7 separate regions of the Homo sapiens genome follow, and all the other regions are linked to region 2. Evidence: promoter capture Hi-C in 16 types of primary human blood cells and fetal thymus (Javierre and others, 2016). All regions are on one chromosome and are shown on one strand. Each heading gives the region's core, a stretch centred on a gene start or on the middle of the fragment in contact. The rest is flanking DNA. Distances are from core to core; before and after follow the strand shown. Region 1 overlaps FANCM (FA complementation group M). Region 2 holds the start of SEC23A (SEC23 homolog A, COPII component). Region 3 overlaps FKBP3 (FKBP prolyl isomerase 3). Region 4 overlaps LOC107984674 (a long non-coding RNA gene). Region 5 overlaps MIS18BP1 (MIS18 binding protein 1). Region 6 overlaps FANCM (FA complementation group M). Region 7 overlaps MIS18BP1 (MIS18 binding protein 1).

The links. Contacts are between HindIII fragments. The CHiCAGO score rates a contact against its expected background, and 5 or more counts as called.
Region 1: a fragment that was not itself captured here is called in contact with the fragment with the promoter of SEC23A in region 2 in 4 of 17 cell types (total B cells, naive CD8 T cells, activated CD4 T cells and 1 more); the score reaches 10.2 in total B cells.
Region 3: a fragment that was not itself captured here is called in contact with the fragment with the promoter of SEC23A in region 2 in 11 of 17 cell types (total B cells, non-activated CD4 T cells, total CD4 T cells and 8 more); the score reaches 25.4 in total B cells.
Region 4: a contact is called between a fragment that was not itself captured here and the fragment with the promoter of SEC23A in region 2, in 2 of 17 cell types (total CD8 T cells and non-activated CD4 T cells). The highest score is 5.4, in total CD8 T cells.
Region 5: a contact is called between a fragment that was not itself captured here and the fragment with the promoter of SEC23A in region 2, in 3 of 17 cell types (total B cells, non-activated CD4 T cells and M1 macrophages). The highest score is 10.2, in total B cells.
Region 6: a fragment that was not itself captured here is called in contact with the fragment with the promoter of SEC23A in region 2 in 3 of 17 cell types (naive CD8 T cells, total CD4 T cells and naive CD4 T cells); the score reaches 11.7 in naive CD8 T cells.
Region 7: a contact is called between a fragment that was not itself captured here and the fragment with the promoter of SEC23A in region 2, in 4 of 17 cell types (non-activated CD4 T cells, naive B cells, M2 macrophages and 1 more). The highest score is 13.0, in non-activated CD4 T cells.

What each region holds. Positions count from the first base shown.
Region 1 is chr14:45,167,980-45,171,046 of GRCh38, reverse strand. FANCM (FA complementation group M) reads right to left here. Exons shown (of 23, transcript NM_020937.4): 12 at 301-458. Among named protein-coding and RNA genes, the nearest start is that of FANCM, 34 kb to the right of the region's middle. The HindIII fragment of the contact is 559 bases long and covers 1,059-1,617 here.
Region 2 is chr14:39,101,459-39,104,552 of GRCh38, reverse strand. SEC23A (SEC23 homolog A, COPII component) reads left to right here and starts at 1,318. Exons shown (of 20, transcript NM_006364.4): 1 at 1,318-1,521. It overlaps SEC23A-AS1 (SEC23A antisense RNA 1), which reads right to left and starts at 1,413. Exons shown (of 2, transcript NR_146545.1): 1 at 1,182-1,413; 2 at 741-1,008. RefSeq lists silencers at 1,103-1,332, 1,493-1,612, 1,633-1,712. The HindIII fragment of the contact is 19,881 bases long and covers 1-3,094 here.
Region 3 is chr14:45,127,635-45,130,796 of GRCh38, reverse strand. It overlaps FKBP3 (FKBP prolyl isomerase 3), which reads left to right. Exons shown (of 7, transcript NM_002013.4): 2 at 1-98; 3 at 896-1,003. Among named protein-coding and RNA genes, the nearest start is that of FKBP3, 5.3 kb to the left of the region's middle. The HindIII fragment of the contact is 1,105 bases long and covers 955-2,059 here.
Region 4 is chr14:45,262,163-45,265,386 of GRCh38, reverse strand. All of the region lies in intron 2 of LOC107984674 (a long non-coding RNA gene), which reads right to left. Among named protein-coding and RNA genes, the nearest start is that of MIS18BP1, 11 kb to the right of the region's middle. The HindIII fragment of the contact is 4,164 bases long and covers 1-3,224 here.
Region 5 is chr14:45,221,646-45,224,721 of GRCh38, reverse strand. It overlaps MIS18BP1 (MIS18 binding protein 1), which reads left to right. Exons shown (of 17, transcript NM_018353.5): 11 at 1-804. Among named protein-coding and RNA genes, the nearest start is that of MIS18BP1, 30 kb to the left of the region's middle. RefSeq lists an enhancer at 1,783-1,832. The HindIII fragment of the contact is 2,578 bases long and covers 80-2,657 here.
Region 6 is chr14:45,148,037-45,151,420 of GRCh38, reverse strand. FANCM (FA complementation group M) reads right to left here. Exons shown (of 23, transcript NM_020937.4): 4 at 2,426-2,584; 5 at 1-24. Among named protein-coding and RNA genes, the nearest start is that of FANCM, 14 kb to the right of the region's middle. The HindIII fragment of the contact is 2,426 bases long and covers 56-2,481 here.
Region 7 is chr14:45,240,555-45,243,924 of GRCh38, reverse strand. It overlaps MIS18BP1 (MIS18 binding protein 1), which reads left to right. Exons shown (of 17, transcript NM_018353.5): 3 at 1,051-1,164; 4 at 1,407-1,891. Among named protein-coding and RNA genes, the nearest start is that of MIS18BP1, 11 kb to the left of the region's middle. The HindIII fragment of the contact is 547 bases long and covers 1,840-2,386 here.

The DNA of each region.
Region 1 (3,067 bases), core at 89-2,588, 6.1 Mb before region 2:
ATATAGAAATGTTTAAATGACAGTAATGAAAGAAAGGCATAATTTATGTAAAAATATCACAGTTGGTTAAATACATATATACAATAAATAATAGAAGAAAATTAGTAGTTTTGTAAACTTAGACTTTAATGATTTCTTACACTGATTACATTCTTAATTTCTTAAAGTAAGTTGACATTCCAATCACAATTATCTCATTATTCCCAAAGCTATTGCTTGATCATTATAAAGAACATCTGAGGGGTTCTGGCATTAAAATGAGGGGGGGGAAAAGAACATCTGAAAATATATTCAACTTACTGGTTTGTTTTCCTCATTTTGTAAAGAAGAAAACTGAACTTGAGGCAATGTTATCTCTTTAATTTCATCACTGTCCCTTAATCTATAAAGTCTGTTCCATAATTTAAATTCTTCTTCTGATAAGAACCAATCTTTCTTTAGGCTACTTTGCCTCATTCCTATAAGTTGAAAAAATAATGGAAAAGAGACTTTTTAAAAATCTGCAAAGCAAAAAAACCCACAATATCCATTCAAACTCTGTCACCCAGGTTGGAGTGCAACAGCACATTCATAACTCACTGTAACCTCAAACTCCTGGGTTCAAGCAATCCTCCTGCCTCAGCCTCCACAGGAGCTGGAATACAGGCTCATGCCACCAGGCCCATCTACTTTTCTTATTTTTTGTAGAGATGAAGTCTTGATATGTTGCCCAGGTTGGTCTCAAACTCCTGGGCTCAACTGATCCTACCTCAGCCTTGATTCTATTCCTTAAAACTAGTATTCTTCATAAAAAACCACTCAGTTTATTACTTCATGCTTCTAAATGTCTCCTAAACTTCTCTTACCTCTGAAAGTACCCATCTGTCTAGGAGCTATCCTTTGGTAATGAATCCATTAACAGAACAGAGCCAGGTACCTTGGCTCTCAGTCCTGGCTTCTTTTGGACTCTTTTCATTTGGTTGCCTAAGACCTGGCATGAAACAGAGTAAGATAACTCACAAATGAAAAACTGGTATTATGATTCTATCATAGCAGTATTGGAAAGTTCATCTGAAGCTTGGTGGGGGTGTTGAGAGTGGGCAGGAAAGGCCAAGACTTTTAAAAGGAGTATGTATCTTAAGTCTTAAATGGGGGTTGGGGCAAAATGAGTAAAGTGTAGGGGGAACAGACTTGTTGCTTTAAAAAAGGACATAATAGACTTTTAAAAATATGTATAGTATATTCATTCTTTTCAGCTTCTATAATCTCTAAGAATCACCAAACTGAAAAGGCTAAATAGTACAAAGCAGTAACTCTGGCTAATACAGATGAGAGCAGAAAAATTGAGACGCTACTGAATTAAAAATCAGGAAACTGGCTGGGTGCAGTGGCTGACACCTCCTCCTTGGGAGGCCGAGGAGGGAGGATCAATTAAGGCCAGGAGTTTGAGTCCAGCCTAGGCAACACAGCTTGACCCCAAGTCTAAAAAAATAAAATAAAATTAGCTGGGCATGGTGTTGCATCCCTGTAGTCCTAGCCACACAGGAGGCTGACAGGAGGATCTCTTAAGCCCAGGAGTTGAGGCTTCATGATGAGCTAGGATCATGTCTCAGGTATTCCAAACTTGTGTAAGAAGCTTTTTAAAAATGTAAAAAATAAAAAATTAAAAATGAAAAAAAAAAAACAAATAAATAAATAAAAGGCTTCTCTGCATCTGTTTCCTCATCTGTAAAATAAGGGGGTTTGAACTAAATGATCTCTCAGGCCCCTTTCAGACCTGACATCCAGAGACTCTAAGATTTCGAAATAGGCAGGTACCCCCAGTCCCTTAAAATAAACTCAGAGTGGCTGGGTACAGTGGCTCATGCCTGTAATCCCAGCACTTTGGGAGGCCTAGGTAGGTGGATCACCTGAAGTCAGGAGTTCAAGACCAGCCTGGCCAACACGGAGAAACCCCGTCTCTACTAAAAACGTAAAAATGAGCCAGGTGTGGTGGCATGTGCCTGTAATCCCAGCTACTTGGGAGGCTGAGGCAGGAGAATTGCTTGAACCTGGGAGGTAGAGGTTGCAGTGAGCCGAGATCATGCCACTGCACTCCAGCCTGGGCGACAACACGAGACTGTCTCAAAAAAATAAAATAAAATAAAAAATAGTCAATTCAGAGCTCTAAGCTCAGATGAATTACATACTAGTGTATATAATATATACTACAAATACACTATATATAATACTACATATACTATATATAGTATATAATATATACTATATATTTTAATATATATAAAATATATACTATGTATAAACACTAGTATATAGTTAGCATACATTAGCAAAATACATAGTAAATACACTAGTATATATTTTATATATTAGTATAAATACACTAGTGTATTTATATACTAGTACAGAATTATAGAATTATTCCATACATAAATCACATAATCTAAGATAAATCTTTGACACTTGAAAAATCAGAGAAAAGGGGAAGAAACAAGTATAGAAAAATGAACATAAGTTAACATTATCTCAATTTTTTAAAAGGATAGGTTCCAGATATTCACTAAAGAATTTGCCATCGACCTCAGTAACATTTTAGAAATAATTATTAAATATAAGATTAATTAGCAACTATAAAAAATATAATGATCACTAAAAATGATTTATCCAACCTAATCAAGTTTTGATGCTTTTATTAATTTATCAAATTCAAGAAAACTCAAAAGACATGCTGTGTTTTTATTTTAACCAAATAATTGGCAAAATCTTGAAAAATGACAGGTATGTTCCTATTAAGTGCATTTGTATTAAGTTTAATAGACATAGCCAAAAAAACATTGATTGACGGCTCTGAGTTAAGGGAAAGAACATTAACAAATCTGAATTGAAAGCAAGTAGTAGGAGGGTAAGAACCTTAAAAATGCATGGTATGACAACAGTGGAACAAACAGTTGAACAAACATAAAAGGTATGGCCTTCAAATATATAGAGAACTGTTATAAAGGTAAACCAAAGATGAAAACTGTACTTTTTATCTAAGAAACCAGATCAATGAGAAAAAGGTACAAAGACACAGATTTTTCAGCGTAAG
Region 2 (3,094 bases), core at 69-2,568:
ACAAGCAAACATCCTCTTCCACCTTCCAAAACAACTTTAGTACACACATTATAGAAAGGGAAATATGTTTGGTGCTTTTTTTTTTGAGACAGTCTCACTCTGTCACCCAGGCTGGAGTGCAATGGCGTGGTCTCGGCTCACTGCAACCTCCGCCTCCCGGGTTCAAGCAATTCTTCTGCCTCATCCTCCCGAGTAGCTGGGACTACAGGAGCGTGCCACCACACCCGGCTAATTTTTGTATTTTTAGTAGAGACGGTGTTTCACTATGTTGGCCAGGCTGGTCTCGAACTCCTTACCTTGTGATCCGCCTGCCTCCGCCTCCCAAAGTGTTGGGATTACAGGCGTGAGCCACCGCGCCCAGCCTGGTGCTGCTGTCTTATTTCTCATGAATATGAGCTTTCAAGGACAGGGACTTGATCTTTTTTTCCATTCCATAAAATGTTGATATGGCTAAACTTTGCAGGCTTTTAGGCGTTGTCATATATGCAATTAATTCCATGGGCACTTAATTTCATTCCCCTCACTGAAGGAAGGGGTTGTCTGAGACCACCAAGCTCTAATGTCTTACCAATCTGTTGCTTTCTCATTTTGTTCAACTTTTTTCTTGGAAAGAAAAACATTGAACATATCAAGATGAATCAGCCAAATATTGTACTGTGTGTGTGTTTTGGGGGTGGGGGGAGACAGAGTTGAAGTGGCAGAGGCAATGTAGGAGGAAAAGACAGGCTGACTAAAATACATAAATAGTACGTGAATTCTTTCGGGCCAGGGATCTGGGCCTACTTTGCCTGCATCATATTACCAGCATCTCAATTGTGTCTGGCACATAGTAAGTTTCAGTAAACATTTGTTGCACTAAGTGAAAGAATGAACTTTTCACTTTTTTCAGAGATGTGATTTGTGATTCTCGGAATCAACCAGGGTCCTAAGATGTCCTGGAGGCCGTCTCCATTTCTCTCGGTGAGCTAAGGTGTCCGAGTGGCACCAGTTCTCCACTCTTTCTGCGACCTGCAGGGAGTGGGATACGCTGTGGCTTTAGGGAGCTGGGAAAGGCGCTCTCTCCCGGTCCCGCTCTGCCCGGTCCCACGCCCCTCGGCCGTCCGGCTGCCTGGGTCTTCCGGGTTCTTCCGCCCCTCTGGCTCGGTCCCCGCTACCTCTCCTCCCTCCTCCCCTCTCGGTACCTTCGCCCGCCGCGCGCCTTTCTCAAATCCTCCGGTTATTAAGCAAGCTCAGGGGTCCGGTGGCCTGCCCTGGTAACTCTGCGCCCGCCCCTTCCTGCCCCCTTCCTGCCCTCACGCCCCGTCCCCTCCTCTTGACGTGGCAGAGGCGGCGCCAGCCATGTTGGCCGGGCGGAGGTCTTCGCTGAGGCCCGGGGCGGGGTGGCGCCACCCCTGATTGCGGTGCCACGGACTGCTCCTGCTGGGCGGAGAGGACAGATTTTGCAAAGCGGAGGCTGCGACGGGTCCTGCAGGGGGACAGTGAGGAAAGGGCCGCCTCGTCTCCGCTCCTGGGGGACCGCAGGTGCGCAGCGGGGAGCGGGGGCGGGCTGGCGGCGGCGGGCTGGGGGCTGGGATCCTGGGGTGGTCCCGGCTCTGCCCTCTCGGTGCCCCGGGGCCAGCGAGGTGTGCTGGAGGCTGAGGCCCGGTCCGGCGCGGGGAGCGTTGAGTGCTGAGCTTGCCACCCTCTCACCCACTTCGCTCTGCCGGGGCCGGGGGCCCGGCCTCCTCCAGCTCCCCTGGATTAGGTGGAAAGATGTGGAAAACGGTGGTTCGAGCATCTCGCCCAGCACCCACCCCCACCTCCTGGGCCACCCACCTCCACCCAAGTCCATCATCGCCTCTGGGCCCTTGGACTTACTGTTTCATTCCTTGCCAGATATGGAGTGTCCTAGACTTTGAACCCAATTGACTACGTCACCGTAATTCAGCCTTGGAAGTTAAAGGGGTTAAAGGGGAAAAGAGCTTGGTAAAGATAATGCCTTGGGTTTTGATTACAAAGAGTTCAGTTTTCCAGCAGGACCAGCCCTATCTCACTGGGCTTTCTTTCTACGGTAGGTAGTGTTTCCCGATTTGGTGGTAAAGGTACTGCCTGAGGAAGGTCATAGTAAATCTACATCAATCACTGAAGTGGGGATGTGGAATTCTCGTTTTCACTTGAACTCCCTCAACCTCTACCGTCCAAAGCCATGGATAACTAGCCAAATTAACTTGGTTTAAAAAGGTTTTAGATTTAAATATAAATGCATGTTGAGTTTTCCTTCTCTTTCTCCTCTGGTAGTGAATGAACATCATTTCAGAAGTCCAGCTATTTTTTTTTTTTCTGAGACGGAGTCTTGCTTTGTCGCCCAGGCTGGAGTGCAGTGGCGCAATCTCGGCTCACTGCAACCTCCGCCTCCCTGGTTCAAGCGATTCTCCTGCTTCAGCCTCCCGAGTAGCTGGGATTACAGGGGCGAGCTACTATGCCCGGCTAATTTTTGTATCTTTAGTAGAGACGGGGTTTCACCATGTTGGCCAGGCTGGTCTCGAACTCCTGACCTCAGGTGATCCGCCCGCCTCGGCCTCCCAAAGTGCTGGGATCACAGGCATGAGCCACTGCGCCCGGCCAGAGTCCAGCTATTTTTAATTGACTTACAGAATTTTAGAGTTAGATGGGACCTTGTGATTTTCTAGTCCAAGTCTCTTATTTTGCTGATGAGAAAAACAGGATTCAGAGAGGTTAATTGTCCAAGATCATAAGAAGACAATTCATTGAGGATTTTGGAAGTGAAAAGTAGGAGACAAATTTAATTGGCAACTAACAAATACATGTAATTGGAAGGAACTCAAATTTACTTGGCAAGTACATTTTCAATTAGATATGAATAAAAGGGCTTAAAATTAGAATATTGAAAAACTATCATAGGGAAAGTCTTTTTTGTTTTTTTTTTTTTTGAGACGGAGTCTCGCTCTGTCACCCAGGCTGGAGTGCAGTGGAACGATTTCGGCTCACTGCAACCTCCGCCTCCCAGGTACAAGCTAAGCTATTCTCCTGTCTCAGCCGCCTGAGTAGCTGGGACTACAGGCGACCGCCACCATGCCTGGCTAATTTTTGTATT
Region 3 (3,162 bases), core at 258-2,757, 6.0 Mb before region 2:
TTGCAGAACATAAATTATTAGGAAACATTAAAAATGTGGCCAAGACAGCTAACAAGGACCACTTGGTTACAGCCTATAACCATCTTTTTGAAACTAAGGTGAGTATTGTTAGATTCTGTTAGCAGAACATCACTTTTGAAATTTTATTTCCAAAAAAGATGTTTAAAATGCATTGATTTGTTGAATGTGTTGGAGCTTTTCCACCTGTAATTTTTCTGAACTGTTATCATAAGTGGACTAGCTGTCAAATCTAGCAAGGCTAATCTGCAGTATGGCAGAATGTTTCAGTATTTTCAAAGGGTCTGGATTTTGTAGCTTAAATTGAGACAACAAATTCTTAAGTCCACTGAAGTTATAAATTCATTAGGTCAGTGGTATTACCGTATTACTTTAGCATATGGTGTATATTAAATGTATTTTGTTGTTGTTTTATTATATATGTTAAATGTTATATTGAAAATAAGTTTCCATTTCACTAATGAATTTAAAGTCTGGTTTAGATTTAGGCTGAGCTTTACAAAAATACATTTTAAGACATTCTCCCACATTTGTTTACTATGAAATGAATATCTTCCACAGGAAAGAAATCTTTATTTAGGAGTTATTTGAATAGTGCTTATATCTCTGGGTATGAGTTGGCCTTTCTAAGGTCATGGTTCTCATTTCAGAATTTATATTGTAAGCTGGTTTGAGGGTAATCATTTATTGTTTAAAAATAAATTATGAGCAAAATTCTTTCTTTGCTCTTCGTTTCCTTAGACCATTTATTCACAATTGTGTTATACAACCTATATTTATTATGCAGATGTTCATTTAATTGAGAGGCTGAAAATCTTGATGTTGCTTCTTGGTTTTAGCCTGTCCTGGGTATGATGTTACAACATTTTCCTTACAGCGTTTTAAGGGTACTGAAAGTATAAGTAAAGTGTCTGAGCAAGTAAAAAATGTGAAGCTTAATGAAGATAAACCCAAAGAAACCAAGTCTGAAGAGACCCTGGATGAGGTCTGTATATAATTATTTTTTTATTTTATCATGTGGAGTCTAGAAATTGTATTTATTTCTTTATTATTTGCACTAACTTCTCATAGTGAAGGGTGGTTGAATACGACCACTTTCAATGAGCCAAACACTTAATGTAGTGGGCCATTTCCCTTAGGTGTACTGGGACAGAAATAATCCTAAGAACTAGTGCTTTACAGTTATTAGCCTATTCTGTGAAACACTTCTGATATTGTATTTAATATCGCCTCCACATCTGTCCAGACCTTCTGAGCTTTCAAAGCTATTTTAAGGCCTTGATTCTATAGCCAAGTTGGACTAAGTGAAATACATTTTCTTTTGATTATTTTTAGCTTTTTCTAATGTACATGGTGTCCCTGGCAATAGAAATAATCCAGGCTTGGCTGCAGGATGTGGGTTCATCTGTCTCAGTTTTCCCAACTCAGGTTTTATACTTTGGTACAAAGGTTTGAAGAACCAGATTAATTCATTCCTGCAAATTGACAGCCTTAGTAGAGCTAAGATCAGCTACTAAGAACTGACTTAGCAGAGCTGAATTGATTATAATCTTGTCATTTCTGATAATACCTTACTATCTAAGCTCACTCATTGCCAGCAGTCTTAGTATCAGTGATAATAATCTATTTTTAGTTCTTGTAAAGAGGTGAGGCTATTGATGACAGTGTAGCTTTTGGGTATTTGTGGAAAGTGTAAGTTCAGTTATACAATTATAGATGTTTATTTGATTAAAGCTAGTTAATTTTGCATGATCTTTTCCTATTGGCTAAAAAGCACAAATTAATGTTTATAGGTATATGTGCACACAAAGCAGTTTTAAAGTTTATCACAATTAATATTTAATAAATGTTATATCTATTGAGTAGCTACTAAGGTAAATGGAGCAATTATTATTGAAGGGTTTCAGAAGCAACTGGCAACATAGTTCACCCTCCAGGAAATTAGAATGAGGATGGTTTTAGGAGACAGATAATATTTCATTAAGGAGTTAAGAAAATAAAAGGTAAATTCATAAGAGCTAGAGACAATCTAGAGCAAGCTTATGAGGGTCCTAAACTCTATCATTTTATTTAAAACCTCTTCGTTTAACTGGCCAGCTTGAGCCCATTTATGTACTGTGACTGTTTTCCTAGCGTCCTACATTCAAAAGCCTCTTGTCCATTTCCTTGCTAACCCTCGTTGTCTACTCTCTGTCTTCATGCTTTGGGACTGGAGAGCAGGCATTATAAACATATAATCATAAAACCTTTTATTGAGCCTGGTATAAATTCATGCTTAATATTAGCCAAGCATGTTTTCTAGTTTCATTGCTACTCAACAACATTTATACTATCCTTTGCCCAGTTCTCCATCACATTGCTCATTGCTCACATAAAGTATTTGACATTTTCTCACAAATTCTCAGTCCCTTCTTACTCCTTTCTCTTTTTTTGTTTTTGTTTTTGTCTTTGAGACAAAGTCTCACCCAGGCTGGAGTGCAGTGGTGCCATCTTGGTTCACAGCAACCTCCCCCTCCTGGGTTCAAGTGATTCTCCTGCCTCAGCCTCCCCAGTAGCTGGGACTCCAGGCAGGCGCCACCATGCCCAGCTGATTTTTGTATTTTTAATAGAGACGCAGTTTCTCCATGTTGGCTGGGCTGGTCTTGAACTCCTGACCTCAAGTTATCCGCCCACCTAGGCCTTCCAAAGTGTTGGGATTACAGGCGTGAGCCACTGCCCCTGGACTCCCTTCTCATTATATGCTCCTGTGTTCTGTAGTGCCAAAATGTGAATGTCTAGCCATTGCCATTCCCTTCTTCTGAGCTTAAAATTTCTCTGAATCTTTGCGTCCCTTTTTCTTTCTCATGTCTCCTTCAGGACTAATGCTCTCAAACATCTTCCTTTTATTTTAAACGTTCATTCCTTTTCCATTTTCAAGCATTCGAAGCAAGGCCTCATACCCAGAATGTTAAAAACGTTGTTCATTTCTTGCCTCCCTTCTCTTTCTTTATCCAGTCAGCAACAAAATGGGTATTCTAATAAGATTTCTAAAACAATACTTTGCAAACCACACCCTGCTGAAAAATCTTCAGTAATTGAGTGTTGTCTAGAATTGCCCCGTTCAGTATGGTAGTTACTAACAATATGTGGCTACAGAGTGCTTTA
Region 4 (3,224 bases), core at 491-2,990, 6.2 Mb before region 2:
AATCCATTCCCTTAATGACTACGCTATTTTCAGACCTATGTAGCATGCTGCCTACTGGTCGGTCCCTCTTGGATTACAAAGTAAATTCAAAATGATCAAGCCTAAAACTAAACATATCTTCTCAACCCCCGACAAACCCTTCTTCCAGTATTATCTACTTCTCTAAATGGTACCATTATCCACCAAAATGCCCAAATCAGAAACAAGAAGGCTTTCTTTAAAAATTTCTCTCTTCCAAGTCCTACATCAAATTGATCATTTAATTCCGTCAACTCATTCCCTTAACTTCTCTCCAATCTGCCCATCCCCACTTTCAGAGTTTGGGTTAGGCCCTCATCATGTCTCACCATAACAACTACAAAAATTTCTGAGACAGAATTCTCATCTAGAATGCCATCCACTTCTAATCAATTCTCCACACACTGTCAAAGTGATCATTCTAAAACTCAAATGTTGGTGAGAATGTGAACAACCTGGATCACTCACATACTGCTGCTGGTAGGAATGCAAAATGGTACAGCCACTCTGGAAAATAATTTAACAGTTTTTTTAAAACACTAAATACTTCTCACGTTACCCAGAAATTGCCATCCTGGGCATTTATCCCAGAGAAGTGAAACTTAAGTCCACATAAAATCTTATGATTTTTCATAACAGTTATATTTGTAATAGCAAAAAAAAAACTGGAAATAATCAAAATGCCCATCAATAGATGAATGGTTAAACAAATTGTGGGTATATCTGTCAATAAAAGGAAACTATCAAAACTATTGATACACACAACTTGGATACAAGGGCATTATACTAAGTGGGGGGAAAAAGCGCCAATCTCAAAAGGTTACAGGTATAATGATTTTGCTTATACAACTTTCTTTAAATGGCAATATTAGAGATAAAAAAAAAAATGATTAGGGCTGGGCATGGTGGTTCATGCCTGCAATTCCAGCACTTTGTAAGGCCAAGGTGGGGGAGACTTGAGGCCAGAAGTCTGAGACCAGCCTGGGCAACATGGCAAAACCCTGTCTCTACTAAAAATACAAAAATTAGCTGGGCATGGTGGTGCACACCTGTAGTACCAGCTACTTGAGTGGCTGAAGCACGAGAATCACTTGAACCCAGGAGGCGGAGGTTGTAGTGAGTCAAGATAGCTCTGGAGAATAGCCAAAGGTCTACAGCAACCAAGAAAATGCTGAACCAAGAAAGTGGGCAGACCACTTGAGGCTGGGAGTTCCAGACCAGCCCGGACAACATGGCAAAACTCTGTCTCTACCAAAATAAAATACAAAAACTAGCCAGGCACTGTGGCACATGTCTATCATCCCAGTTACTTAGGAAGCTGAGGTCGGGGGGTTAACTTATACTGCGAGGTCAAGGCTGCAGTGATCCATGATTGTGCCAACGCACTCCAGCCTGGGTGACAGAGTGAGACTGTGTCTCAAAAAAAAAAAAAAAAAAAAAGGAGCAACTTACTATCTAAAGCAATCTGCAGATTCCATCAAAATATCAATGACATTCTTCACAGAAATAGAAAAAAAATCCTAAAATTTGTATAGAACCACAAAAAACAAAGCAATCCTGAGCACAAAGTTGGAGGTTTCACACTACCAGACTGTAAAATATACTACAAAGCTGTAATAACCAAAACAGCATGGTACTGGCATAAAAACAGACACATAGACCAATGGAACAGAATAGAGAACCCAGAAATTAATTCACATATCTACAATCTACAATCAACTAATCTTTGACACAGATGCCAAGAACACTCATTGGGAGAAAGGATGGTCTCTTCAATATATGGTCTTGGGAAAACTGCATCTCCATATGCAGAAGAATAAAACTAGACTTCATCTCTCACCCTATACAAAAATCTACTCAAAATGGATCAAATACATAAATGGAAGACCTGAAAATATAAAACTACTAGAAGAAAACATAGGTGAACTGCTTCAGAATATTGGTCTGGGAAAATTTTATAAGCCCTCAAAAGTACAGGCAATAAAAGCAAAAATAAATACATGAGATTATATATAACTAAAAAGCAATCAACAGAATGAAAAGACAAACCAGAAAATGAGAGAAAATATTTGCAAATAACTCATGTGACAAGTGATTAATATCCAGAATATACAAGGAACTCAAACACCTCAATAGCACAAAAATACAATCTGATTTTCAAATGAGTAAATGATCTGAACAGACATTTCTTAAAAGATATATAAAAATGGCAGGCTGGGCACGGTGGCTCACACCTGTAATCCAGCACTTTGGGAGGCCAAGGCAGGTGGATCACTTGAAGCCAGGAGTTCAAAACCAGCCTGGCCAACATGGTGAAACCCAGTCTCTTCTAGGAAAAAATACAAAAATTAGCCGAGCATAGTGACACTCACCTGTAGTCCCAGCCACTTGGGAGGCTGAGGCAGGATAATTGTTTGAACCTGGGAGGTGGAGGCTGCAGTGTGCTGAGATTGTGCAACTGCACTCCAGCCTGGGCAACAGAGCAAGAGCAAGAGTGAGAGAGAAAGAGAGAGAGAGAGAGAGAGAGAGAGAGAGCGCGCCAAGAAACACATGACAAAATGCCCAACATCACTAATCATCAGGGAAATGCAAATAAAAAGCACAATGAGGTTTTATTTCACCCCAGTTAGAACGGCTATCATCAAAAAGACAAAAAAAAGCAGATTCTGGCATGGATGTGGAGGAAAGGGAACTCTTAAAACACTGTTTGTGGAAATGTAAACCAGTAGAGCCACTATTGAAAATACGATGGAGGTTCCTAAAACAACTACAAACAGAAGTACCATATAATCCAGCAGTCCCACTATTGGGCATTTATCCAAATGAAAGGAAATTAGTATATCTAAGAGACAACTGTACTTGCATGTTTGTTACAGCATTATTCACAATAGCCAAGATTTAGAATCCACCTGGGGTTCAACAACAAATGAATGGATAAAGAAAATGTGGTATATACAAATGGAATACTATTAAACTATAAAAAAAGAATGAAATCTTGTCATTTGCAACAACATAGATGGAGCTGGAGGACATTATGTTAAGAAAAATAAGCCAGGAACAAAACATTAAACATCACACGTTCTCACTTATATGTGGAAGCTAAAAAATTTCATCTCATAGAAGTAAAAAGTAGAATACAGGATACTAGAGGCTGGGAATGATAGGGAGAAGGGAGGGATAAGGAGAGATTTGTTAAAGGTTATAAA
Region 5 (3,076 bases), core at 119-2,618, 6.1 Mb before region 2:
CATTGATATTCTAACCTCAAGGGAACAGTTTTTCTCAGATGAAGAAAGAAAATACATGGCCATCAATCAGAAGAAAGCTTATATTTTAGTAACACCACTTAAATCTAGAAAAGTGATAGAGCAAAGATGCATGAGGTATAATCTGTCCGCTGGCACCATCAAAGCAGTAACAGATTTTGTAATACCAGAGTGTCAAAAAAAAAGTCCCATCAGCAAGTCCATGGGGACTTTAGAAAATACATTTGAAGGTCATAAAAGTAAAAACAAGGAAGATTGCGATGAACGTGACTTACTTACTGTCAACCGGAAAATAAAAATATCTAACCTTGAAAAGGAACAAATGCTCACCTCTGACTTTAAGAAAAATACCAGACTATTACCAAAATTGAAGAAAATAGAAAATCAGGTAGCTATGTCATTTTATAAGCATCAGTCCTCACCAGATTTGTCAAGTGAAGAAAGTGAAACAGAAAAGGAAATTAAAAGGAAAGCTGAAGTTAAGAAAACCAAAGCAGGAAACACCAAAGAAGCAGTGGTTCACCTGAGAAAGAGCACAAGAAACACAAGTAATATTCCAGTGATTTTGGAACCTGAAACTGAAGAAAGTGAAAATGAATTTTATATCAAACAAAAGAAAGCTAGACCTTCCGTCAAAGAAACTCTTCAGAAGTCTGGTGTTAGGAAAGAGTTTCCAATTACTGAGGCAGTAGGATCTGATAAGACAAATAGGCATCCCTTAGAATGCTTACCTGGTTTAATTCAGGATAAGGAATGGAATGAGAAGGAGTTACAGAAACTTCATTGGTAAGTAGTTAGATTTCATTCCGAAATATCTACAGAGCAGCCACAAGACAGTTAAAGACATAAAAATAGCAATAAGGGGTTAACATGGAAGATGTCATTAAAAAAAAGGGAGAAATTATAATTTGCACAGGGAATGGAGATAGACTACACATAACTCCTAGTGGTATTTTTGTGGTCATCTCTAATACGAGGAAAGTACGAGGAAAGCCTAAGTATGAGGAAAGTAAAAGTGACCTTTTCATTCCCATGTAATATTTCAAGATAGCCAAATAGTACTCTCTCACGTAGCTTCATATTTTAAGAAATGCATTTTTTTGTTTTTTGTTTTGTTTTGTTTTGATTGAGACGGAGTCTCGCCCTGCTGCCCCGTCTGGAGTGCAATGCCACAATCCCGGTTACTGCAACCTCTGCCTCCCGGGTTCAAGCGATTCTCCTGCCTCAGCCTCCTGAGTAGCTGGGACTACAGGCGCACGCTGCCACGCCTGGCTAATTTTTATATTTTTAGTAGAGATGAGGTTTCACCATGTTGGTCAGGCTGGTCTTGAACTCCTGACCTAATGATCCGCCCACCTTGGCTTCCCAAAGTGCTGGGATTATAGGCATAAGCCACCGTGCCCGGCCTAACAAGTGTTATAAATAGTAAAGTTTGGTGCCCCACAAGTGAGACTCAAGGATACTAGAAACCTAGAAGTGGGCACTGAAGGGTAACAAAGAGAGTTTAAAGAGGAGCTCTCCAGTTCTGGGTTGAGGAGCAGAAAGGGGGACTTCTGACACTCAGAAACAGTAGAGGAAATCCCCAGTGTTTGGTTTGGTTTGTTTTTGTTTTGTTTTGTTTTGTTTTGTTTTGTTTTTGTCTTTTCTCTTAACTCAGTCCCCATGCAATCCTGCAGGGGCTACAGTCACAGCATCAGCTGGGGCTGAGATATATCTAAAACTCTGAGAGATGAGAACCTTCTCTACAATTAGGAATGGTTGCCTCAAAGTAGTGGGGCAAGTACCTGTTGCTTCTGTTCTCTTTCTGTTGTCTGTTGCTTGGTACTGGACAAAAATTCAGTTGTGTGAGGCATACAGCAGAGCAGAGTAATAAAAGCCCCAGCTTTCTGGCCAGAGCACTGACAAGGGAAACTCCAGGGAACCAGAAATCGCGGAAAGAGAGGAAGTAGGAAAAGCAACCCCATAAAGTTGTTTATGAACTTCTATGCCACCCAGGAGTTGTACATATGTGGACATGGTCCTAAAGAGCATATAAAAGACTGAGAACTGAACTAAACAGTAGACCACACCCAGTTTCTAGGCTAGCTACTCAGTGTCCCACACACAGGAAGATCCTAACAGCACTGCAGAGCTTTGAAAAATGAAACTGACATTGAAACAACAATGATAGTAGACTGAACGTATAGCTTGGGATACCACCAGGTTGATGACCTGCTAAAATAAAAATATTAACATTTCACTTGAAGCAGTAAAATATTGATTCTAAGTAGACTGTTGAAGTTAAGTATATTTAATGTCATCCCTAGAGCAACTTCTAAAAAAACTATACAAAGAAATAATTTCAAACATAAATTAAAATACTGGAAAATCAAATAGCCCAAAAGAAGGCAAAGAAGAAGAGAAGTGGAGGATTTTTTTACATGGAACAAGCAGAAAACAAATAATAAAATTATTGACCTAAATCCAACATAATTAAATTAAATGGTCTAAACATACCAATTAAAAGACATATTGTCAGAATGAATTTAAAAACATGATCTAACTATATGCTGTATACAACAAACTCACTTTAAATATAATGATATAGGTAGGTTAAAAGGATAGAAAAATACCGTCTAAACACAAATCAAAAGAAAGCTTGAGTGGCTATATTAATATCTGTCAAAATAGACTTTAGTAGGAAGAAAATAACCAGGAATAAAGAAAGACATTACAAATGATAGAAGGGTCAGTCACCAGGAAGGCATGAAATTCCTAAGTGTGTATGCACCTGACAATAAAACCTCAAAATACATGAGTTAAAAACTGACAAGTGAAAGCAGCGGACTAAACTACAAGGATAGTCAAATCCACAGTTATAGGAAACCACACTGCTCCTCTCTTGGTATTTGATAGAACTGACTGAAAATTAGCAGGGATATAGAACTGAACAACACCATCAGTCATTCGTATGATTCACATTTACAGAACATTCCACCCAATAATAAGAAAAAGAATAGGTTATTTCCAAGGATAGGTTGATCATTCATCAAGATAGATCATAAAACCTCTTAACAGA
Region 6 (3,384 bases), core at 19-2,518, 6.0 Mb before region 2:
AGAACGAGCAAATGATTCCAAAATCTGCAAATTTAAAAGCAATCTAGTTTAAGCTTGCTCTAAAGTCCTTTTTCAAGTACAATCATTTTCTCACATATTAAAATAGGAATTATATATTTAATAAAGTTTGTCTTACAATGAATGTTTAAGTAAACTCAGCAATGATAACATTTAAAACTACTTGACATCTATCCCCAAATAATATCCATATAAAAATCAACATAAGCAATTATTATATACAACTGTAATTTAACAACACATTCGTTTATCTGTTTATTTCTTAACTCCTCTCTCTCTCAACCTACACACACTATAATCTAAGTGTAAGTACCATGAACGAAGACCTTTGATTTCTGCACTGTTACATCCTCAGTATCTAGACCAGTTTGGCACTTAGGTCCTCAGCAGATATTTGTAGAGTAGTTTGTAAAGTACTGAATAAATTGAAATGTCCTGAATATATTTAATTTTACTCACTGATGCATTTTTTTCAACAAATATTTATTAACCATCTACTATGTAACAGGCACTGTTCTAAATGCTGGGGATAGTGTGGCTAAGACTTTATTTGTCACTGCTCTCATATAGTTTACATTCCAATGGAGGGAACCGAAGAATAAAGAAGCGAACAAAGAAAGTAGATCATTTTCATTATAACAAATGCATTTAAGAATCTAAAACACAATAATGCTGTAGAGTCTTTGAGAGGAAAGGGATCATTATTAAATAAGGTGAACAAAGACTCTCTTTGAGAAGAGAACATTTGAGTTCACATGTGAATGATAAGGTATGTCTACCATGTGAGGTTCTAAGGACAAAGGATTCCAGAGAGAGGAGACAGCAAACAAAAAGTCCTGAGGCGGAAATGAGCTTAATGGCACAAAAGGAGACCTATAGATGAAGACCTACTACCGCAGTATGTAAGTGTTTAAATTTTTGCCTAATTTGTATTTTCTAAATTATGGCTAGTTTAATACATTTTTTTTCCTCCCTTCCAACTTTGCTGATCATACTGCCTAATAAGGCACTCTAAAAATACTAACAAAATTAAATTACATTTGTATATGATTATAAGAATTATCATATTTACATTGTTATAAATGGAATGATTTTCAATTAAAAATGCACTAGTATCAAAGAGACAATTACAAAAAGACTTTGCCATATCTTAACTCAATAATGCTTAGAATTTTGTTACAAACAATTTAAAAACAAAAAAGCTGTATTACTACAAAATGTCTCTTTAAGAAAGGCTTACTATAGATTAAGTGACAGATAACTTTTTGGTTATCTATTTCTGTAACCATCTTTAATCCATGGCAATGAAAATGTGAAACCATGTTGTTCAACCATGACACTAATTATGAACTACAGAAAAACAATGTGTTACCACAAATTTCTCCCAGTGAAAATGACAATTGTCTAAGCAGGTCCTTAACAGCTATAATATTGACATTTGAGCCAGATAATTCTTTGTTGTGGGGTTGCTGTCCTATCCATTGTAGGATGTTTAGCTGATTCCTGGCCTCCATATACTAGATGCCAATAATAACTCCACATTTCACCTGTTACCTCCCCCTTCTCTCCTGCCTTTTTGTTGTTGTTGTTGTTGTTGTAAGAACCAAAAATGTGTCAAGTCATTGCCAAATGTTGCCAGGTAGGTGAAGTAATTTCCAGATGAAAAGCACTGCTGCATAAAGATCAGGGAGGACAACAGTGAAAATATATTTCAATACAAAGAAACTTCTGGGGGCCGGGCGCATGGTGGCTTACACCTGTAATCCCAGCACTTTGGGAGGTCGGGGCAGGAAAATCACTTGAGGTCAGGAGTTCAAGACCAGCTTGGCCAACAAGGTGAAACCTCGTCTCTATTCAAAAATATAAAAATTAGCCAGATGTGGTAGCATGTGCCTGTAATCCCAGCTACTTGGGAGGCTAAGGAGAACTGCTTGAACCAGGGAGGTGGAAGCTGCAGTGAGCTGAACAAAAAACAACAAAAAGAAAACAAAGAAACTTCTGGCTGAATCTCAGTACGTGTTCATGTTACGGGTGTGTGCAATTTGTGAAAATTCACTGAGCAATACACTTATGCTTTGTCTACTTTTGCTGTTTGTGTGTGTGTGTGTGTGTGTGTGCATGTTCTATATTCCAGTTATAAGGTTTACTTAAAAAAATACAAAACCATGTAAGGCTATTATTTGCTTTACAAATGGCCCATCTTTTGTATTTTCCCTTTCAATAACAGTTTGCTAGTACATACAAAACACAGTGCTCATTCCAAAAATTTTAACTTCAAAGAATTTTTTCAACATATCAATTATATAAAAATAAGATAACTATATTATCACATCCAAATCCTGTTAGCTGAAATAATTCAATTACCAGTTTATTTATGAAATCCCTAAATGTCATAAAAATGGTTTACCTGGATATAGGTCTTTTGGATGGCTGCAAGTTCTTCACCAAGCGGAACAATAAGCTTTTCAACTTTTCTTTCATGAGAATATGTCAAAATATCTGGAGAATCTTCAGAACGAAGCTCTATCTGCCCAATTAGCAGGTTAGTAATAACTTGTTGCACAGCCTATATGAAATCAATTAAGTATGATTATAAACTACATGTTAAAATTTTTTAGTTTAAGTCACTAACAGAAATAAAATAGCAGTAAAATTTTGAAAGAAGCACCAGAAATTTATATCATTAAGTAACAAAAAAGAAAGAAGATAAGCCTATAAAAAAAGTACATCAGAAGTAGCACAACAGGTGAAAAGTGCTTCCGAAACATCTTTTCCCCACACAGACCTTCAAGCCAAGCATCCGAGAAATAAGAATATTTGTAAATGTCCAAAAAGTTCCTCAAATGTAGTTTGGTACTTTACAAATAGAGTCTTTATAAAGACTCAGACAAAAATTTCAGATTAGCAATACTCAATCAATTATTGATAAATTAGTAGAATATTTTCCATTTAAATCAACATATATGATGTGAATATATTTCCAGGACTAAATTTCATGTACCCAAAGCTTATAAAGAGACTTCATTGTAAAATTAGGAAACTGGAGAAAAAACATATAATCTGTTGTATTCTGTAGCAGGAGACTATGGTACTGACAGTGCGATTAACAATTAAAAAGAAAAAAAAAAGAGAGGATCCTGAGAGTATGTAAAAATTAAAAGTTGTTTTGTGTGTGTGTGTGTGTGTGTGTGTGTGTGTGTGTTTTTGAGACGGTGCCTCGTTCTGTCACCCGGGCTGGAGCACAGTGGCACGATATCGGCTAACTGCAACCTCCGCCTCCCAGGTTCAAACGATTCTCCTGCCTCAGCCTCCCCAGTAGCTGGGATTACAGGCGCCTGCCACTACACCCAGCTAATTTTTTGTATT
Region 7 (3,370 bases), core at 864-3,363, 6.1 Mb before region 2:
AATACCTGACCATTTTGAGAATCTGGTGACCCTTTCCCCCAGAAAATATAAACACAAATAGAAACACAAATTTTGTATATACTTTTAGAAACCTTTTAGAGAGTCTACATGAACCTGGGACTCCCACATAAGTGAATAAATATAACTTATTGCATTTGATTGAATTACTACTGAATTGCCTTGCCATTTCTTGTAGAATGAGTTAAAGATATAGAAACTTATTGTTTCTTTTTGTGACACGTTGTTATAATGAAATCTTTATCTTAAGATTTCTGAGACCAAAGTGGCATACTTATTAAAGCATAGTCACTACCAGTTTTTTCAAGTATAAAATTTAAAATTAAACATATAAGATAATTCTTCTCAGGCTCAAATTTTAAGTCTATTATCATCCCCTTTTTGTGTGAAAGAAACTACATTCGAGAAACATTAAACTTTAAAAATCTAGGAGGTAAAGCAGAATAAGATGCAAGCAGTGCTATTAGTCCTTATTTATCTAGTTGAGAAACCTACAACTTCTGAGCATTTGAAGGCCTACTAAAAATTGTCTAAAGGATATAAATTATGGCTGAGTCTGCTGTTGCATCTCAACATTTTAATTTTTAAAGAATAAGTTACAATTCTTCGACTATCTTTCATGCTTTAGAAATTCACAGCAACCAGAAACAGAATCGGAATTTTCAAGACTGGGTGAAACTTTATATTGTAATCTTAACATATACATATCCAATTTGTGGCAGCACCAGAATTTCAGATCTCTAGGTTTCTAAGTCCAATACTTTTGTCTAGAGCTGGCGGGTTGTGTTCAGAGAAGGTTTTAAAAAATTCTTCCTCACCGTAATGTTGGTATAGAGAATGGGGTAAAGGTATGAGAAGATAATACAGCCAAAAATATAAAAATATATGTAACTGTCATATATTGCAAAAGTACTATACTGGTCTGATCATTACTAAATCTAAGTGTCTTTATTTCAAGAATTTTAAAAGCTGTTTTTTTCTTAGTGACTAATACAATTCAACTTCTTCTTTCTTTAAAAAATAAAACCTTAGCCTCAGTCCAAGGAGTTCCTCTAGAATCATCAAATAATGATATTTTCCTCCCGGTCAAACAAAAGATTCAGTGCCAGCAGGAAAAGAAAGCACCACTGCACAATTTAACTTACGGTAAACTATTTTTGGTTTGTTTTCAGTTTGTTACTTAAGTATATTGTTAAATGTTCTAGGTAATTACTTTCCTTGTGTGGGCATTAAACTTTAGCTGTGGACAAAAGCTTGAATCGTAAAAGAGACACTCAGAGAAAGACTGGGCAGGAGGGTGGAACGTTCCTAACCTAAATTTATCTCTTTTAATTTCCTGTGATCCTTCTATAATTGTTTTGTTTTGTTTTGTTTTGTATTTTTTGCAGAACTTCCAACTCTGAACCAAGAACAGGAAAATTTTTTGGCTGTAGAAGCCCGAAACAAGACATTAACTAGAGCTCAGTTGGCTAAACAAATTTTTCACTCAAAGGAGAGTATAGTTGCAACCACTAAATCCAAAAAGGACACGTTTGTTTTAGAAAGCGTTGATTCTGCTGATGAACAATTTCAAAATACTAATGCTGAGACTCTCAGTACTAATTGTATTCCTATTAAAAATGGCAGCCTGTTAATGGTTTCTGATAGTGAGAGGACAACAGAAGGGACTTCGCAACAGAAAGTTAAGGAAGGAAATGGAAAAACAGTGCCTGGAGAGACAGGTCTTCCAGGTTCCATGAAAGATACATGTAAAATTGTACTTGCAACACCAAGACTTCATATAACAATACCTCGGAGGTCAAAAAGAAATATTTCAAAGCTTTCTCCTCCAAGAATATTTCAAACTGTTACAAATGGACTTAAAAAAAATCAGGTGGGAAAACTTTTAAGACAGATATTTATTTCTATTTTTACCCCGTTCTTCAAGAGCTTGAGCTTTTAATGTTCTCTCATTATTTTTTTTCTAGCTAGGATTTGAACCTGTATGCTTCATTATTAACAGTGTCTTCATTATCATGTTTTATTATTTACTGCAGTGACAGTGTGACATAGTGAAAAGAACAGTGAGTTGAATGTAAGAAGACCCACATGTTAAGTCTTATTTTGCTCTATTACTAGTTGTGTAGTCTTCAATAATTTACTTGTTCCTTTTGGTGATGAACATTGAATTCATTCCTACTCTTTTTTTTCTGATACTTACAGTACTATTAAAATAGTTAGATTAATTAAGATAGAAAGGAACTGTAGCATCTGAAGATTTGAGAATTTTTCCCAAATTAAATACAGAGTAATCAATGAAAGACTTTAGAGCATTAAACTGTTACATTAGGACAAATTCTCTGAAGGAAGTGGAATGGAAATACAAGCTTAAGGAGGAAGATGCAGTGTAAAATTTCCAATTGTTAGAGGTTTGCCCATTAATTAATTAATTATTTTTGAGCTGGAGTCTTCCTCTGTCACCCAGGCTGGAGCACAATGGCGTGGTCTTGGCTCACTGCAACCTCCACTTCCTGGGTTCAAGCGATTCTCCTACTTCACCCTCCTGAGTAGCTGGGATTACAGGCGCCTGCCACCATGCCCAGCTAATTTTTGTGTTTTTAGTAGAGACGGGGTTTTACCGTGCTGGCCAAGCTGGTCTCTGACTCCTGACCTCAAGTGATCCTCCCGCCTCGGCCTCCCAAAGTGCCGGGATTAGAGGCGTGAGCCACTGCATCCAGCCATTAATTCTTAAATGTATGATGGTGGTTATCAAGTTGAGATCATGTATAAATTCCATCTAAATTTTAATTAATAATTAATTTTTTAAATGAGGCCTTACTCTGTTGCCCAGGCCAGCCTTTTGGGCTCAAGCAATCCTCCCACTTAAGCCTCCCTTGTAGCCATCTAAATTTTAAAGAGTGACATACCAGTTATGGTTTTATATCTCAATATATTCGCTAGAAATCCCATTATTGGAAAATATTTAAACTTTATTTATTTATCTATCTATTTATTTATTTATTTTGGAGACAGAGTCTCACTCTGTCACCCAGGCTGGAGTGCAGTGGCACAATCTCAGCTCATTGCAACCTCCGCCTTCCAGGTTCATGCAAATCTCCTGCCTCAGCCTCCTGAGTGGCTGGGACTACAGGCACATGCTGCCATGCCCGGCTAAATTTTTTTTTTTTTGGATTATTCTCATTAACATATAAACATGTTGAAACATGGCCTGCATTTTTTAAAAACATGCAAACAAAGGCCCATCTTTCCTTTATCCCCTGTCCAACTCCAGCTGCTACACTACTTTTTGTTTCCCTTATATAGCAAGACATTTGAAAGAGGTCTGTGTATTCATGGTTGGAGTTGAGAAGAA